2 separate regions of the Homo sapiens genome follow, and region 1 is linked to region 2. Evidence: promoter capture Hi-C in human tissues and cell types (Jung and others, 2019). All regions are on one chromosome and are shown on one strand. Each heading gives the region's core, a stretch centred on a gene start or on the middle of the fragment in contact. The rest is flanking DNA. Distances are from core to core; before and after follow the strand shown. Region 1 overlaps PFKFB4 (6-phosphofructo-2-kinase/fructose-2,6-biphosphatase 4). Region 2 holds the start of FBXW12 (F-box and WD repeat domain containing 12).

The links. The method cuts DNA at HindIII sites, captures the fragments that hold promoters and counts their contacts. A contact is called where the count stands out against the background at its distance.
Region 1: a contact is called between a fragment that was not itself captured here and the fragment with the promoter of FBXW12 in region 2, in 3 of the 25 tissues and cell types used here (bladder, heart right ventricle and lymphoblastoid cells).

Annotation. Positions count from the first base shown.
Region 1 is chr3:48,520,361-48,526,919 of GRCh38, reverse strand. PFKFB4 (6-phosphofructo-2-kinase/fructose-2,6-biphosphatase 4) reads left to right here. Exons shown (of 14, transcript NM_004567.4): 10 at 1,251-1,355; 11 at 3,090-3,219; 12 at 3,321-3,383; 13 at 4,870-4,934. Among named protein-coding and RNA genes, the nearest start is that of SHISA5, 19 kb to the right of the region's middle. The HindIII fragment of the contact is 4,280 bases long and covers 904-5,183 here.
Region 2 is chr3:48,367,085-48,373,468 of GRCh38, reverse strand. It overlaps FBXW12 (F-box and WD repeat domain containing 12), which reads right to left and starts at 1,250. Exons shown (of 11, transcript NM_207102.2): 1 at 1,149-1,250; 2 at 612-785; 3 at 124-161. The coding sequence starts at 701. The HindIII fragment of the contact is 16,322 bases long and covers 1-5,927 here.

The sequences.
Region 1 (6,559 bases), core at 1,794-4,293, 150 kb before region 2:
ACCCAGGCTGGAGTGCAGTGGCATGATCTCAGCTCCCTGCAATCTCTGCCTCCCGGGTTCAAGAGATTCTTCTGCCTCAGCCTCCCAAGTAGCTGGGACTACAGGCGTGAGCCACCACGCCTGGCTAATTTTTGTATTTTTTTAGTAGAGACGGGGTTTCACCATATTGGCCAGGCTGGTCTCAAACTCCTGACCTCATGATCCACCTGCCTCAGCCTCCCAAAGTGCTGGGATTACAGGCATGAGCCACTGTGCCCGGCCTACATGGCGTTCTTAAAAGGACACCAATGACTGGATTTAGGACCCACTCTAATCCAATATGTCCCCATCTTTTTTTTTTTTTTTTTGAGACAGAGTCTCATTCTCTTCCCCAGGCTGGAGTGCAGTGGCGTAATCTTGGCTCACTGCAATCTCCACCTCTTGGGTACATGCGATTCTCCTGCTTCAGCCTCCTGAGTAGCTGGGACTACAGGCGTGCGCCACCACGCCCAACTAATTTTTGTATTTTTAGTAGAGACGGGGATTCATCATGTTGACCATGCTGGCCTTGAACTCCTGATCTCAGGTGATCCACCTGCCTCAGCCTCCCAAAGTGCTGGGATTACAGGCTGTGAGCTGTGAGCCACCACGCCCAGCCAACTTTTCTTTTTTTTTCTTTTCTTTTGAGAGGGAGTCTCTCTCTGTTGCCCAGGCTGGAGTGCAGTGGCACAATCTCAGCCCACTGCAACCACTGCCTCCTCCACCATGTTGGCCAGGCTGGTCTTGAACTCCTGACCTCAAGTGATCCGCCTGCCTCAGCCTCCCAAAGTGCTGGGATTACAGGCGTGAGCCATCGCGCCCAGCCAGCTTTTTTTTTTTAATGGCATTTGTAGAAGATGATCTATGCTCTGTGTGTGTGTGTGTATCCCAAATAACACAAGTGAAGTTTTCCTTCATAGTTTGCATAACAACCTACACTCACAAGTACTATTTCCACAGCACAGAAAAGAAAAAACACATAGCATCTCTGTGTGTATTGGATGGGTGATGGATAGGTGGACAAGACCATCCTGGTAGCTTTTTACAAGCAAGGAACCACCAATGATCAGTGTTCCTAGAGGTCCTCCCCTCCTTAGACAGGTTTCTGTTCCCTTCACCCAGGAAATGCCCGTGAACTTGGTCTCTTCTGCTTGATGCTGCCTCACCCCACATGTCCCCAAGGCTCATCTTCTGGGCCTGTAGGAGGTGTGATGACTGTGGTATCTCCCTAGGGCGTCTGTGAGGAAATGACCTACGAGGAAATTCAGGATAATTATCCACTGGAGTTCGCCCTGCGGGACCAGGACAAGTACCGGTACCGGTACCCTAAAGGGGAGGTAGGTGGGATTTGGGGCTTAGTCCCAGCCACCTACTGCCCGCCTGGGAGTACCACCTGTGGCTGAGGGCCTGTGGGGCTCTGCAGGGGCTGCGTGGGTAGCAGAAGGGGCCTGGTCTCAGAGGCCTGCCAGCCTGGGTGTGTGGTTCATCTCCACCCCTTCCCAGCTATGCAGCCCAGGCCTTAGTCCCTTCCTCAGGTGTGGAGTGGGCAGTGCCATGTAGGGCAGGCCTTCAACCTGGAGACCTTTGGCTCCCTGCTCTCCATTCTTGTCTTTCCCCTTCCCAGGGGTGGAGAATTCGGAAGGGCAGGGCCTGAGGTGGGGGATCTGCGGAGTTAGGCTTTCCTGGGACCCCTGTAGACAGTGTGCGGTCCCCTGGCATTCCCAGGCCAGCTCCTTTCCCAGCGAGTTGTCAGCCCTTTCCGGGGCGCTCAAATGGCTGGGGAGTTGGGGAGACCATGGCAGGCCTGGGACTCGGGTCTCAGCTCACTCGAGTCCCTGTCTCGGGCCTCATCCTTCCTTTGGATGCTTCCTCTTGTCACAGGCTGAGCCCATCCTGTCCTTCCTGTGGCTCCAGGCACCACCCCCAGCCCTGGCACCAGACCCAGGGAGACCTTCCACACATGAGTTGGCTACCACAAGCCACTGCACTTGTCACCTTCTCTGACACAGTTCAGCCCAGGCCCCAGGTCAGAAACTGAGGGTCACCTTTGACTGAGGCATCTCCTTCCACTTCCAGGAGGTGGCCTGGGGCAGGGGCCAAATAAAAATACACCCCGTCAACACACATATGTACACATATATATACACATGTAGAAGCACCTCCACCCAGAAGCCAGGCTGACAGGTCTCTACACTGTACCATCCTCAGGATAGTATAGCTCTTGGGAACATTAATTATTCCCCACATTATGTTAGGCCAAGTTCAGATTTAGAACCAACCCAGATAACGGTCAGGAGAAACAAAGCAGCTGGCTGCTCAAACATGAGAATACAGTGAGGAGAATTGGTTGAGAAATTCATGTTACCAAAAGAACCGGTCTAGGATTTTCTCAGAACTACCAGGAACTGGCACAAATCAGCGTGTCATTTTTGCTTCCTAATCAAAGCTTGGGGCACGTTCAGTTCTGACTGCTGGAGGCCATTTTTGAAGGACCACTCATTGTGTGCAGAAGGATGAAACTGATGAAAATCTCTAAACCTGCCAGGTTGAGAGGCCCAGCAGGGGCCTAAACCGTACATCACGGCAGGCATAGGGGGAAGATACTGGGCAGGTAGACTGAGGATAGTTCCTGGGGACCCCAGCTGTTTCTGATGAGTCACACTCCAGAAAGTTCCAGGTCTTTGCTCTCTTCCCCTTCGCTCTTGTCAGTGCACTCTGTTTGCTGTGGGCTGGAAGCAGGCGAGGTCTTCTCCACCAGTCACATGAATTCTATAGCTGAGGATTCAGTGCAGAGCCCCATGGGTGGGCACTGAGGTGGACCCTGGGATGGAGCCTGAGGCCTAGCTCTGCGCTCTCAATCCTACCAGGACCTAGCCCTGAGGTGGGAAAGGTGGCCCCTTTCCTCAGCTGCCCACCCCCATGGCCTCAGAAGGCTAGGCTGGAGGAGGCCCAGCCACAGCTTCCCAGAATGGTGAGTAGCTGCAGGAGTGGAAGGTGGCCCAGTGTCCAGGATGTGTCTGTCCCTCCCCCGGAGCCAGGCCTGAGGGACCCCTCTCTGCTTGCCCTTGCAGTCCTACGAGGACCTGGTCCAGAGACTGGAGCCTGTCATCATGGAGCTGGAGAGGCAAGAGAATGTGCTGGTCATCTGCCACCAGGCTGTGATGCGCTGCCTGCTGGCCTACTTCCTCGACAAGGCAGCAGGTGTGGGCTGTGCCCCGGGGGAGGTGGGAAGGTTGTGTGAGAAGGTAGGCACTGTCACCAGGCATTTCTGGTGTGCTAGCCATCCCCCTCTGTGTCTACAGAACAGCTGCCCTACCTCAAGTGTCCGCTGCACACAGTCCTGAAGCTGACTCCTGTGGCATATGGTAAGGAAGCTTCCTGCACATTGACCATGGGTAGCCATGACCTTGGATCTCTGCACAGTTCCATGATTTTCTCCGAATTCCTTGAAAATTGTGTTAGGAGCCCATTCCTCCACCTACTACCCCACCACCTTTCCCAATTTGCTTTTTTTCTTTGAGACGGAGTCTCGCTTTGTCACCCAGGCTGGAGTGCAATGGCGTGATCTAGGCTCACTACAACCTCCACCTCCCGGGTTCAGATGATTCTCTTGCCTCTGCCTCCCGAGTAGCTAGGATTACAGGCGCCTGCCACCATGCCCAGCTAATTTTTGTATTTTTAGTAGAGACAGAGTGTCACCATGTTGTCAGGCTGGTCTCGAACTCCTGACCTTAGGTGATCTACCTGCCTCGGCCTCCCAAAGTGCTGGGATTACAGGCGTGAGCTACCATCATGAGCTACCATCTGCGGCCCTAATTTGCTTTTAAAAAGTTTGTTCTGGGGCTGGGTGCGGTGGCTCATGCCTGTAATCCCAGCACTTTGGGAGGCCGAGGTGGGTGGATCACGAGGTCAAGAGATAGAGACCCTCCTGGCTAACATGGTGAAACCCCATCTCTACTAAAAATACAAAAAAATTAGCTGGGCGTAGTGGCGGGCACCTGTAGTCCCAGCTACTTGGGAGGCTGAGGCAGGAGAATGGCATGAACCCGGGAGGCGGAACTTGCAGTGAGCCGAGATCGCACCACTGCACTCCAGCCTGGGCGACAGAGCGAGACCCTGTCTCAAAAAAAAAAAAAAAGTTTGTTGTGAAAAAGTTTATGTGGCCACAGAAGACCTCCCCAGTGACTTTGCTTAACCATTGCCTACCTGCATGAGGGGCTTTTCTACTGATTTTTCTGAACCCCCACAAGGCCCCTTGGTCCTCAGGGCCTGGACTTTATTCTGGGTGCAGGGCAGTGTGAGTCCCCACCCTGCCTCTTGCTATACCAGCAGAGACTTCAGGCAACTTCTTCATCTCTCAGGTCTTAGCTCTTCACCTTTAACACAGGTGCTCTTGGGGGAATGGCTGTGAAGCCCAGTGGCAGCTGATGTCACTCCAGTGTGTGACAATGGCCTCATCCCCCATTGCACTGTGCACCTGGCACACGGTTGACTGGGCCTTATATGGTAGAGTTGGAATGTGGGTGGTTTGGGGGCCCTGAAGACTTTGAGAGTCAGTAACCTCAACTTAGGCCTGCTGTTCCCCCGATCCCTCTCGGTCCTGGGGTTGGGGAGCCTGGGGCCTCTGTGTGGCCCTGTCTGGGCCGTCACATAGATATGCGTGGGTCTGACAGCGTGTCTCATCCTTCCTCCCGGGGCTCCCCAGAGCTGCCTAAAGTGGAAGAACTAGAGTGAGGCTGAGATGGCTGCTCCATTCCACACGCCCAGACCCCCCTCCAAGAGAAGTTTCTAGCATCTGCAGCTCAGCTGCCTTTCAGGAGTGGGGATGGATTTGCATCTTCCCTTTGGCAGGTTGTAAAGTGGAGTCCATATTCCTGAACGTGGCTGCTGTGAACACGCACCGGGACAGGCCTCAGGTAGCAATGGGGTCACTGCTGGGGTAGCGGGGTGTTCCTGATGTGGGGGTGTCCAGACTGCACATCCTCCAGGGCCAGGCCCAGCTGCGGCACCTGCCAGAGGGAGCTTGAGTCTTCTGCCAAGACTGTTGTCCCATCAGCAGGGCGGGGCCCTGGCTCTGGGTGGGGCCTGCATCAGGCCTTCCCAAGGCACCTGCCCTGGGGATGGGGAAATCCCTGACTCTGGGCCACCAGGCTCAGGAGTGCCTGAACTTGGGTGTGGTTGGAGCCCCAGGACTTGAGGAGCCACAGGGCTCCCAAGCAGCAACTTGGAGGTCTAAGTCAAGGGGGCCCTTGGGCTCAGTGAGAATGAGGCTGGAGGCTAAGAATGAGGCTTCTGGCCTTCTGAGGGCAGGTGGGCACTCTTCCCACTCCCCATCCCTGCAGCCGAGGCCTCATGAGCCCCTTTCCTAACCCCAGCACCTTTAAAAATTAAAATGGGATCATGTACTTTTGGGGAAAGGGCCATGCAGATACTGAAGGGGCCTCAGCATGGGGTGGAGACCTTGGTCCAGAAAAGCAGTCACCACCTGTGCTCCCCAAGTGCCTTGTGGAAGGTAGAAGCTCCTCAGAGTGTAGCTCAGAACCACTCTTAGTCCCATGTGGGGTCCCTCCACAATGTTGGCTCCCTCTCCCACTGGGGCCAAGGATAGGACCTACACTTCTGGGAGCCCCGGTCCCAGTTCCTGGAGGCCACTGCACGGAGAAGGCTCTTGGGCCTCAGTCATGCCTCTTGCCATCCATGATGGGGCCTGCTTGGGCTCTGGGTCCCTGCTGAGGATGCACGTCTTGGGCTGGACCAGGACATCTGGCCTTGGACCTCACAGCACAGGTGTGTAGATGTGTCCTGTCCCTTCCCAACACCACTGCCCCCAAGCAGGACCAGTTACCCTGCAGGCCTCTCTTCCCATTGCTCTGATAGTTCGTGCATGTCTTGGCCAAGTTCAGCCCAGGCCCAATTTGGTACCCACAAGTCACAGGGGAACGTACCTCCCAACGGGCATCCTTTGGGCCAAGGAAGGCCCAGATGGCACTGGGCCCCCAGCGCTGACAGAGTGATGGTAAGAGAGGCCCCTGGGTTGGCAGGGTGATGGTAAGAGAGGTCCCTGGGCCTGGCAGCCCTTGGGAGCTGACCCTACCAGTCCATCACCATAGTGTGGCTGGCGGTCATTCTGCCCACTATGGGTGGGTGCTTCTGAGAGGCAAACCGCTACTAACCCCAGGTTCCTGGATGGCTCCCTTCTGGCCCATCCATTGGGGCAGGCTGTGGTGGAAAAGGGGCGCCTCAGGAAGCCTGCCCAGCAGTAAGAATTATACCTGCCCCTACAATTCCAGGGGCCGGTCCTATGAGCCCAGGCTGTGGGCCATGGGGGCCATGTCTCTCTCCCTGAAGATCTGGGCATGTCATGTTGCATGGGGCAGCAGCTCAGGTCATCAGTGACCTGCTCCTGCAGGTGATGGTTCCGGGGCCCACAGCTGGGAGGAGGGGCCACCAGGCTCTGGGGCACATAAGACAGCCTCAGAGAGCTAAGGGAAGTTTCAGATTCCCTATTCCTCAGGCCTGAGACTCCCTGAGCCCGACAGGC
Region 2 (6,384 bases), core at 1-2,500:
TACTCACACTAACTTTCCTGTGTATATCTCACAACACAGCCACACAGGCCTTGGGACACAGCATGGGTGCGCAGTCAGATGATCTCCTCTCCCCTTCCCTCCTTGCCCTTTCCCTTCCCTTACCTCCACAGGTAATCACTGTCTGCAATCCTATTCCAATGCTATGGGAGAGAAAGGAAGAGACAAGCAGGCAATCAGTTACATCAGAGAGCAAGGGTAATCCTCTGCTATTATTTGTTCTGGGAGCTGGGCCCGCACAGGTTAATCAGATGGGATTCCAGCTCTCAAAGCACTCTCAGTGTGGGGAGATAAGGAAATGGTAACAACAGAGACCTATCACTGCTAATACAGGCACTGGGTATTCCCATGAATTCACAGGAAGAAGTGTTGATTTCCTAGGGCTTGAAATGGGAGCCTCAAGGACTGTTTAGTCAGCACAACTCCTGGATATCAGCTTGTCCTTTTCGTTTAACAGAATATGAGGCCCTCAGTATGAAGAATGCTAACCCCCAAAGCCTCAGTGTAACCCTCTGCTATTCTGCAAAGTGGTGCTCAAACTGGTCGAGAGAAGCAGCGGGCTTGGGGGGCAGTGGGAGGTGGAAGGCCTTTACCTTGTTCACCTGGGAAACCTGCAGCAAGCCGAACAGGTCCAGGAAAGAGAAGATTCGCTTCAAAGCTAAGTCAGGCAATCGGATCTCCATTTCATGCGGCCTGAACCCACATCCACTTTCCTTTCTCCTCTCCGGGCTGCTCTGAATTTATAGGCTTTGCCAAAGTCTGCAGCACTTGTAAAGATTTTCACCCATGCCCATCTGTGTGCGGTAGAAACAAGCTGCAGGTGTGCAGACTCCCGGGCTGACCTCCACCCCGGCCTCTCCCCTGGGGCCTGATCCACACAGCTGGCAGGCATCCCTACCTAAACCCACTTGTTAGTGCTGTTCATTGTTTAGAGGAGCTCAGCAACACCTGTGCGCTGTGAGCTGGAGGTGCAGAACCTGGGGCAGCCCCAGTTGCAGATGAAGTTGTCAGAACCCTTTAGGAAATGTCACCGAGTGCACTCACTTTGATCAGATCTGAGTGTCTCTATGACTCTATTTAAGTTCCAAACTCCTGGAATTGGAGTCTGCTTGCCCTGTGTCTGTGCCTACCTTGGGATCTTGAATCTGGTGAGTGGGGCTCATCTCTCAGCGCCAGCATGGCCTCTGGGTTTCTACCTTCTCGCATTTAACTTTGCAGTGGAGGAGAAAGAACGTGCCAAGCTGGCTTCTCCACAGAGGTCCGCCCAAAGGGAGCAGGCCTTGTCTGGGATGGCTCTCCCAGCTGGTGGCTTTCCCTGGGATGTGACGCTTTCCCACAGTTACAGATCTCCCAAGAACCTGACAACTCATTCTGGGATTTTCTAAAGACCGTGTCATAGCCTGGGTGTTTGTGTCCTCTCAAAATTCCTACGTTGAAATTCTAACCCTTGGTGTGATTGGAGGTGGGGGGCCTTTGGGAGGTAAGTGGGTCACAGGCAGAGTCCTTATGATGGGACCAGTGACCTTATAAAAGAGACCCCAGAACGCTCTCTAGCCCTGTTCATATCATGCGAGGACATGAGAAGGTGTCAGCTGCAACCTGGAAGAAGGCCCACACCAGAACCTGACCGTGCTGACAGGTGACTCTTGGACTTCTCTCCTCCAAAATTGTGAGAAATAAATTTGTTTGTAAGCCACCCAGTCTATGGTACTTTGCTGCAGCATAAGACAGGGGTCCCTCTGTGAGGCTCAGTGGCCAACCCTTCTTAAAACTGCTGCCTCCAGGCAGACACACGGGAGTGGTTGTCGGGAGTCCCATTTATGATACAGTAGTAAGAGAGAGGAAAAATACAAATTGACATGGTGAGGAAATAAAAAGGAAAAGCAAAGACCAAGAAGCACCTAGAGGGGCGTGGGGAAAGGCGAGTCAAGGGGTGTGTGGAGAGGAGTGAGAAAAATACAAGGGTAAAAGATTTGTATTCCATAAATAGGAAATAATGCAGAGAGAGCCAGAGCCGTGGAAGGACACAGGAAGACAGAAAGCTTGGAACGGACTCTATTGTAGAGGAACAGAATTAATGCAAAGATATAGAAGGCTGAGAAATAAAACACTTTAAAATATGACAAGGGAAGAGAAGAAACAGTAAAATAAAGGATATTTTAAAAGTATTAAAGCACAAATATTATAAAATACACAGATAGGAAATATAACTGTAAGTGGACTGAGACAGAGTAGGAATAAAATGGAAAAGAGGACAGATGAGAAAGAGGCAAACATAAGGAAACTGAAGCAAATTGCCGAATGAGTGAATGAATGAATTTGAAATAGAGGAACAGAGGCCAGGCACAGTGGCTCATGCCCGTAATCCCAGCACTTGGGGAGGCCGAGGCGGGTGGATCACCAGGTCAGGAGTTTGAGACCAGCTTGGCCAACATAGTGAAACCCTGTCTCTACTAAAAATACAACAAATTAGCTGGGCGTGGTGGCGGGTGCCTGTAATCCCAGCTACTTGGGAGGCTGAGGCAGGAGAATTGCTTGAAGCTGGGAGGTGGAGGTTGCAGTGAGCTGAGATTGCGCTACTGCACTCCAGCCTGGGCGACAGTGCGAGACTCCATCTCAACAACAACAACAAAAAAAATAGAGGAACAGGAAGGTGTGTTGGGGGGTGGTGGTGGCGGGGTGCTACCAGAAAAGCGGCAGAGAAAGACACATTGCAACAATAGATGAAGACAAATCTAAATGTCACAAGAGTTAAGAGATGTAAAATTTGAGAGATGTGAAATGGTAACTGCGTAATAGTCTAAGCAAAAGATAAGATGCAGGTGAGAGAATGGTCCGGACATTGTCTAGGAGAAAGTAGATTAAAGCAGGCAGCTGGGGAAACCTGAGAAGAGGGATCCATAAGGAGTTGGGCAGCCTGAGAGTAGGACAGAGAGGGAGGGACGACACAGCATGGGAAGTAAAGGGGGCGTAGCAAGGGGAGAAGTAACAGCACACCTTTCATGGCGCCTTCTGCAGGCAAGGCACCCGTCTAAACAATTTACAGGGGCTCATCTATTTAATCCTCACAACGGCTAGATGAGGTAAGTCCTATTACTGGCCACCTTGCCAGGGTGCTCCGTGTTCTCTTAGATTCTGAATTTGTCTGGCATCCATCACAGGGCCAGTTGTATTCTCTGTATATTTTTAATTTTCTGTATTCTTGATGCTCTGGCATTTGTGATCTTGCTGACTGGGGAGAGACTCTCCTTCCCAGGCCTAGCCAGATAGCAAAGGAGAGTGCCTTTTATGCAAACGAACCAAGCTACAGCCCACACCCACAATCATCTCCTTTACCAAACTCTCACACAGCAAGTTAATATTCCTCCTGCCCTAAATCAACCCAGGGCCAGGTACCAGACAACTGGAGACGGCCCCTATGCCTCAAAGCCAGCCAGAACCATTTAAACTAGCCCATTCTAAAAGGCTTACCCTGTTCTGCCCTCTTCGTTTCTTACAGAAAACACAATAAAGGCTCAGGCCTATGCTGCCCCGCCCCTTCTGCCTCCTGACTGCCCTTGGTGCTCTCCATGTGGCCCTGCGTGGGGAGCCAGGCCTCTTGTTTATAGGGATCTGTGAGTATAAACTTCTTCCTTCATGACAATCATTGCTGTGTCTGCACGCTTTGCCACACCTGATTAAAACCAATCCCAGGCACCAGTTTTAGAACACATAGGTGGGAGCCAACACATACAGAGGTTAGGTGACTTGCCCACAGTGACACCCCTGGGAAATGGCACCGGGTTTGAACCCCAGCAGTCAGCCCCAGAGCCAGTGCTCTTAGCTGTTATGCTCTAATGGCTCAAAGAGAAGAGGGAATTGGGAAAACTTGGAATGATTAGGAGAAGAATGAAAGTGGATATATTTTTAGCCTTGAGTTTAAAATGCTAAACAACTGAATAAAACATGGTCCTGTAGTCCCAGCCACTCAGGAGGCTGAAGCATGAGAATTGCTTGAGCCCAGGAGGTGGAGGCTGCACTCCAGCCTGGCAACAGAATAAGACCCTGTCTCAAAAAAAAAAAAAAAAAATACAAAATGTGTTCAAAGAAATGAAGTAAAGAGAATGCTGACTAAATAGGAAAGAACACAGAAGATACATTTTTTTAAAATGGTGACAGAGGGAAACACCAAAGAGAGGAAACATGAAAGAGAGATTTTTAAGAGAAATAAGGAAGGACCACAGAAGTCAGCCTGTTGTCCCTGGCTCAGGCTGGGGGACTCAACTGTCCCCAGTGCAAGCAGGGCATGACTGACTTCTGTCTGGCTCCAGAGATATGGGGCTCAGGTGGGCAATCTGAACCCGCATTGGGGTACAATTATTGTGTCACACCCACTGGCCCTGATACATTCCCTGGAGGGAGTCACTGCAGAGAGTGCAAAAGGGTAACAAATTATGCTTCCACTACAAAGTAGCTTTGGGACACATTTATGGTTCCATTTATACAGAGAAGCAAAATGATAGACTTGGTACCCTGACTCTTCCAGAGGCACGTTTTGTGTTCATGGGAACCTCAAGGATGTAAGCCCGGGATAGGGACTGAGCACTGTAAGCTGTATAGTGACTTTGCAGAGCCAATCAGTTAATTTGTAAATGTGAGATGTTGAACTTTGTGAAATATGAGAAAACTTAAAAATCATGATTGGGAACCCATGTGAAATTTAAAATGTAACATTTATAGGTAAATGATATCAAGTAGATTCTAAATTGGTATTTTAAATTTGCTCACAATTATTTAAGTAAATATTCATGCAAGTGGATAATGATGGAGGAGAATATATTAAAATGAATATATTCCTGTTATGGGTTCATGATTCCGTTTATCTAAAACTTCCTTTTAATATTTTATTTTTGAATTGGAAGATATAACAGAAAAAACTTGATACAAATAAACATATATAATTCTGTCTCCAGAATGCTAGGCTAAGAGGATTTTTTCTTTCCTTCTGTTGTTGCTGGGCCTAATTTAAAGAATTAGAGGCACCTTTGATTAAGATTCATGCAACTGATAACTTGGTATAATGGAAATAAAAATCATAATTTTAAAAGGTTGTGAAAACAGTCTCACAGGAGACTAACATGTTTACAGGGATGACACTGGCTTCCAGTTCAAAGGAGTCCATGGGTAAGCCACCCACAGTCCCCGAGAGAAGGAAGCACAGCCATTCACGTGGAAGAACAATTTTTCCTGGTTCTCAATTCTTAAAGCAGGTTTTTTTTTGTATGTGAAATATTAAAAATCACTCCTACCATGGCTACCACTGTAGCTTTACTGAGAGTGGTGCTTGATACACACCCCAGCCTCTCCCAAAACTGAGCTCACTTCCTCCAAGGGGGGCAAGGAAGGTTTCCTTTCAAATGTGGGTGTTGTAGTTGAGGTGCATGATTCAGGTGTCAGTTTTGTTCACTGCCACTTATGCAGGTTTGCTCAGTGATGGTGAGGAGGCCCTGCTCTAAGGGGTCCCTGCAGGGGGAAGGAGCTGGGCTCGCCCATCAGAGGGAGATGGGAGTTCAGCCCAGCTGTGCCTCTCTTTGGGTGGGAGTCTCTGAGAAGGTCATGTAATTTCAGTGCATCTTGGCTCTTTATCTGAAGAATGGAACTCAAGTGGGTTTGCCAAAAGGAGTACCTTGAAAAAGAAATGTCTAGCATGGTGCTGGCCTTATGGTAGATGCTAAAGTCTGTGAAATCCGTATCTCTGAGCCAGGTGGAATCTGGGGAACACTTTCCCAGAAAGTCTGGTCACCAGTCCTTCAGGTCCACCAATGTACTCCCTACAACAACTCTGAGGGGGCAGTGACACAGGGCAGTTATCACCTGGCCAAAGGCACACAGCTGTTGGTGGCAGTGTCAGGAATCACACCAGGCCATTTGACTCCACAGCCATGCTCCTAACCTCTAGGCAATCCTGCCTCTGCAATCCCCTCAGTTACCAAGAAACAACAGTTTCCCTGTGAAGCAGGGGTGTGTGTGCAGCCCTCCCAGTGCCTGTGCTACTGGGAACACAGCCAGGCCTCCTGGCCTTTTGCTGCTGTGGGTGGGGCCTATCATGGTCACCTGGCCCTGAGCTCTGTCACTGAAGAAGAGATGGCTGAGCTAAAGAGAGCAGCACAGCATGAGCAGAACAGATGGTGGGACCATTCTGTGGGCCCCACTCTGTGACCACTTAGCTCAGATATCTGTGTGTATAATTCCATGTCCTCAGGGAAACATTCCTTTCCATTGGTTCTGAATGGGAAAGAGAGCTTAGGAAATTTTTCATCTCAAATGTATACAGTTAATTTTTTAACTTTTTTATTTTGAGATAATTATATAGTCATAGGAAGTTAT